Linked DNA regions of Homo sapiens: region 2 is linked to region 1. Evidence: promoter capture Hi-C in human tissues and cell types (Jung and others, 2019). All regions are on one chromosome and are shown on one strand. Each heading gives the region's core, a stretch centred on a gene start or on the middle of the fragment in contact. The rest is flanking DNA. Distances are from core to core; before and after follow the strand shown. Region 1 holds the start of B3GNT4 (UDP-GlcNAc:betaGal beta-1,3-N-acetylglucosaminyltransferase 4). Region 2 overlaps RSRC2 (arginine and serine rich coiled-coil 2).

What was found. The method cuts DNA at HindIII sites, captures the fragments that hold promoters and counts their contacts. A contact is called where the count stands out against the background at its distance.
Region 2: a fragment that was not itself captured here is called in contact with the fragment with the promoter of B3GNT4 in region 1 in 1 of the 25 tissues and cell types used here (dorsolateral prefrontal cortex).

The regions. Positions count from the first base shown.
Region 1 is chr12:122,202,259-122,205,020 of GRCh38, reverse strand. It overlaps B3GNT4 (UDP-GlcNAc:betaGal beta-1,3-N-acetylglucosaminyltransferase 4), which reads right to left and starts at 1,312. Exons shown (of 3, transcript NM_030765.4): 1 at 1,220-1,312; 2 at 337-499. The coding sequence starts at 402. It overlaps LRRC43 (leucine rich repeat containing 43), which reads right to left. Exons shown (of 12, transcript NM_001098519.2): 12 at 1,550-1,706. The coding sequence ends at 1,579. RefSeq lists a silencer at 998-1,627. The HindIII fragment of the contact is 16,495 bases long and covers 1-2,762 here.
Region 2 is chr12:122,506,380-122,509,113 of GRCh38, reverse strand. RSRC2 (arginine and serine rich coiled-coil 2) reads left to right here. Exons shown (of 10, transcript NM_023012.6): 8 at 667-896; 9 at 2,191-2,280. Among named protein-coding and RNA genes, the nearest start is that of ZCCHC8, 6.8 kb to the right of the region's middle. The HindIII fragment of the contact is 4,115 bases long and covers 1-2,734 here.

The DNA of each region.
Region 1 (2,762 bases), core at 63-2,562:
AGTGTCTCTGTCACCCAGACTCTAGTGCAGTGGCACAATTATAGCTCACTGCAGCCTGGAACTCCTGGGTTCAAGCGATCCTCCGGCCTCGGCCTCCCCAGTAGCTGGGACTACAGGCGTGCAGGGCCCGGCTAATTTATTTTTTGTAGAGATGTGGTATCTTTTGTTGCCTGGGCTGGTCTGGAACTCCTGGCCTCAAGCGATCCTCCCGCCTTGGCCTCCCAAAGCGTTGGGACTACAGGCGTGAGCCACCGGCCAGAGTTTTCTGAGCCCCCTGGAGATCTATGCGGGGGTGGGGGACAAGGGGGTCTGGCAGAGGCGGTGAAAGAATCTGACCTTTGGTAAAAGGCCACTCCTACCGCCCCTTCCCTGGTGGGCTGCGGAAGGCTGGGGAGGAAGCATGAACGGCAGCTGGAGACTGTCTCCGTGCTCAGGATGCCGGGCGGCGGCGGCGGCGGGGTCGAAGCGAGATGAGTCTCAGGTGTGCGAGCACCGCGGGCTGTGGACGAGAGGCCCGGGCGGGCGGCGGTGCCATTCACCGAGAAGGGCGCACAGCAGGTGGCTTGGTTCCGTCCCAGGAGGTTTCAGCCCAGGCTGCGCCGCGGCCCGGGTGGCCCCTGTCCCGCCGCGGGCGTCCCCAGGCGCTGGCCGCACGGCCTCGCCCCGCCGCCCTCCGAGCCGCGGAGACCCCAGAGCCCGGCTCTCCACCCGCCGCGGAGCGCACGACCCCGTCTGGTGGGGCGCGGGTCCTGAGGCTGCGCTCGGCCTTGGGCGGCAGCCGCCTCGGATCCCCACAGGACTCGGTGACCCAAAACGCCCTGGCGCGGGCAGGGGGCGAACTCTGGTTCATTCTTTCAACGCGACAGTCTCCGAAGGGCTGACGGCAGCAGAGACCCACTCTGCGGGGACCCCCGGGCCGGGGTTGGCAGCAGCGCTGCGCGTCGGGCGCGGGCGGCCCAGGCTGGCGGGGTCTACCGCGCCCGGCTCCAGCCTCTGTCCCCAGCCTGGAGAACCGAAGCCGAGCGGCCCGTGGGCCCCGAGCCGTGCCCGCCGAGGCCAGACTCGCGCCGCACCCGGGCGGGGCCGGCGTCCTCGCGGGGACCCTGGGGGACCGGGGAGCGGGCCGCGGGGTGCAAAGGCACGGCCGCCCTGGCGACGCCCCTCCCTGCACGGTGACCCAGCCTCCCTCACAGCAGCGGCGTCCCGGCCCCCAACCTACCTGAGCGTGACGCCGGGGTACGGGCGTGGAGCTCGTGCAGCGGAGCCAGGGCGGATGGCGCCCAGGTGCGCGGAGCTCTCGGGGCTCGGGAGTGGGCGGGGCTTCTGGAGGAGGTGGGAATTTGGGGCGGGGTTCTGGCGGGGGCGGGTTTGGGGCCTCCCCGGACCCAGCCGCGGGTCTCCGCAGCGCCGGAGGCTGGACGCACGCGTCCCGCGCCCGGTCCTGGGGTCCGCACGAGCCGGGTCGGGCAGAGGCTGCTCCTCCTCCCCAGGACGCCGGCGCCACACCCGCCCCCCGACGCGTGCGGCGGGACAGAAGCGGAGGCGGGAGTGCTGGGAACAGCCTTTACTGCCCACGCCCTACACGGCGAACATGCGCAGAGCCTCCTCCGCCGAGCGGCACTGGTTCAGCTGGATCTGCACCTCTACGGTCAGGGGCTCAGGGTGGTAATCGCCTTCGTAGATCGGAATCACGGCTTTCGGCTTTTCTGAGAAAATTTAAGTGCGAGCATGAGCCCCGGGAGACGGATGGGCTGGCGTTCTCGGCCGCCCTGACCCATCCCATATGCAAGCCCTGGACCCTGTCCCAGCGGGAGCACAGTTTTGGTCCTCGGGTGTTAACAGTAATAAGAAATAAAATTAAATTGTATTTAATTAGATCATTTAATAAATCGCAGCTGTTTGAGTTGCAAGACTGGCTGCTTTTTGCTTTGAGACAGTGTCGTGCTCCGTCGCCCAGGCTGGAGTGCGGTGGCATGATCCCGGCTCACTGCAACCTCCGCCTCCCAGGTTCAAGCGATTCTCCTGCGTCAGCCTCCAAGTAGCTGGGATTACAGGCGCCTGTCACCACGACCGGCTATTTTTTGTAGTTTTAGTAGAGACGGGGTTTCACCATGTTGGCCAGCCTGGTCTCGAACTCCTGACCTCAAGTGATCCGCCTGCCTAGGCCTCCCAACGTGCTAGGATCACAGGCGTACACTACCGAGCCCAGCTGCAGATATTTTCTTAAAAATGAAGTAATTATAGCACTTCAGGGGAAACAACTGAAAGCATTTCAATAAATGTATAACATTTGCCCTAAAAATGAGACAACATTGTATCTGCCACCATGAATTTACCAATTTTCCAATACGCAAAGACCTTTCTAATGATGTGGGTGGTGATAGTAAAGAACGTGATCTTTGGAAAATGTATAGTGACAGGTGTCAACTGTTGGAATATCTGCATAAGTCTGTTAACCTGTAGTTTACAAGTAACTCATGCATGTTACAAACTGCATGGTAAAATATCCGTTCAAAATGCAAACTAGATTAATGAATTTTAATCTGATTATGAAAAATTCAATATAGATTGTTTTCACATTGTAACAACCTTTAAGAAATTACCACTTGTCAAATTTGGTGTAATATTAAAGAAATTATATTATTTTAAGGTCTATTAAAATACTCCCTCTTTTCCAATTATGGGCCTGAGGTTGGATTTTCTTTGTGCACGTCAATTACAGCAACATATTGCAAGCAGTTGACTGCAGAAGTAGCTGTAAG
Region 2 (2,734 bases), core at 225-2,724, 300 kb before region 1:
ATGAGAACATTTCATAAATTTAAAAAAATACAAGGTTTTATTGTTTTGTAATTATACCTTAGAAACACTATAGTTCATCTCCACTGAAATCATACTTTCTTACTATTTGCAGAATTCTCTATCCTCAAAGTAAATAAATGGGTTTTTTTTTTGTTTTGATACGGAGTTTCGCTCTTGTTGCCCAGGCTGGAGTGCAGTGGCATGATCTCGACTCACTGCAACCTTCGCCTTTTGGGTTCAAGTGATTCTCCTGCGTCAGCCTCCCGAGTAGCTGAGATTACGGGCATGTACCACCACGCCCGGCTAATTTTGTATTTTTGGTAGAGACGGGGTTTCTCCATGTTGGTCAGGCTGGTCTCGAACTCCCAACCTCAGGTGATCCGCCCACCTCAGCCTCCCAAAGTGCTGGGATTACAGGCGTGAGCCACTGCGCCTTGCAATAAATGGTTTATATATCAAGGGTTTATGTAGAAATATGTCCGTTGATGAACACAATAAATGTTTGCTAAAAACTTGTGAGCTAATACTCAGTCATTTCCTTGGATTTGGTGAAAATCCTGCCTTTTTGCACATTCATAGCTTTTTATAAATCGTTCGTTAATGTAAATCAGGAGGTTTATGTTTTAAAATCGTTTTAAAATCCATTTTTGTATTCTCTTCAAGCAGCTGCAGCTACTGGAGGTTCTGTTCTCAATGTTGCTGCCCTGTTGGCATCAGGAACACAAGTAACACCTCAGATAGCCATGGCAGCTCAGATGGCAGCCCTGCAAGCTAAAGCTTTGGCAGAGACAGGAATAGCTGTTCCTAGCTACTATAACCCAGCCGCTGTTAATCCAATGAAATTTGCTGAACAAGAGAAAAAAAGGAAAATGCTTTGGCAGGGCAAGAAAGAAGGGGTAAGTTCTCTTATTCTGCTTTTCTGTCGTTTATTCCTAATTAGTAATTGCTTAGAAAAACAAATTTGGGTTGAAAAATATTACTTTCGGCTTAACTTTGTAAGAACCTGGGGTGGCCAGACGCGGGTGGCTTATGCCTTTAATCCCAGCACTTTGGGATGCCAAGTGAGCGGATCAGTTGAGGTAAGGAGTCCAAGACCAGCCTGGCCAACATGGCAAAACCCTGTCTCTACTGAAAAGAAGATAAAAATCAGCTGGGTGTGGTGGCACACACCTGTAATCCCAGGTGCTTGGGAGGCTGAGGCAGGAGAATCGCTTGAGCCTGGGATGCAGAGCCTACATACAGTGAGCCAAGATCATGCCACTTAGCCAGGCATGGTGGTGGGCACCTGTAATCCCAGCTACTTGGGAGGCTGAAACAGGAGAATCACTTGATCCTGGGAGGCGGAGGTTGCAGTGAGTTTCCAGCGAAACTCCATCTGGAAAAAAAAAAAAAAAATCACGCCACTGCACTTCAGCCTGGGTGAGACCCTGTCTCAAAAAACTTATAATAAGCTATGATAGTCTTATTTGCCAGTTATTAATACTAAAATAAAACATAATTGATTGAAGTCAAGCTTTCAAAGAAAACTAATATTACCATAGAAGTAGTAAGGAAAAGAGGCTACTTGGTTTAGAATTTTTCATAGATTATGAGGTACTTTTTTTTTTTTGACATTATTTGCAATGACAAATGACATTAAATGCAAATGACATGCAGTCGCAAAAATTGCATGTTGAAAAAGGTCTATGACAGGAAAATAATCCATTTTTTTATTTTATTTTTATTATTTTTGAGACAGAGTCTTGCTCTTGTCACCCAGGCTGGAATGCAGTGGTGTGATCTCAGCTCACTGCAACCTCTGCCTCCCAGGTTCAAGCAATTCTCCTGCCTCAGACTCCTGAGACCCTCCTGGGTCTACAGGTGCCCACCACCATGCCAGGCTAGTTTTTTGTATTTTTAGTAGAGACGGGGTTTCACCTAGTCATCCAGGCTAGTCTCGATCCCCTGACCTCAGGTGATTTGCCCACCTCGGCCTTCCAAAGTGCTGGGATTATAGGAGTGAAGCACGGCGCCAACCTCTTGCTTGTATTTCTTTGCTTTGTGGTTTCTTAAGTCTTGAAATAATTAAACTTACATTGATTGAATGCTATCCATGGTGTTTTTTTTTTTAATTTAGACATTGTTGAGAGATTTCATGTCCTAAAAAATATTTAAATTTTACATATTTTAAAGTTCAGTGTTTGTTAACAGGACAAATCCCAATCTGCTGAAATATGGGAAAAATTGAATTTTGGAAACAAGGACCAAAATGTCAAATTTAGGAAATTGATGGGTATTAAGGTGAGTTTCACATGTGCCAGGGGATCTTTGTATTAGCTATTAGCCCTCCTGCACTGTTCTTCCCTCATTTTCTTAGTTCTGGTCTTTACTCAGGTGTCAGCGTTTTTGAGTTCTTTCCCACCACCTTTTGTGAAATAACAAGCAATCCCATTCTGAAACATTTCCATCTCCCCTACCCACTGTCCTCCCTACACACACACTTGGAGAGAGAGAGAGAGACGGGGTTTTGCTCTGCTTGCTCTGTCACTTGGGCTGGAGTACAGTGGTGCAGTCATACCTCACTGCAGCCTTAAACTTCGAGGCTCAAGCAGTCCTTCCACCTCGGCCTCTCAAAGCCCTGGATCACAGTTCTGAGCCACTGCGCCCAGCCTCCATCCCCATTTTCTACTTTACTTTCCTCTGTGGCATTTATACCCTGACATCTTCTACATATTATGTTTTTTCCAACCTACTA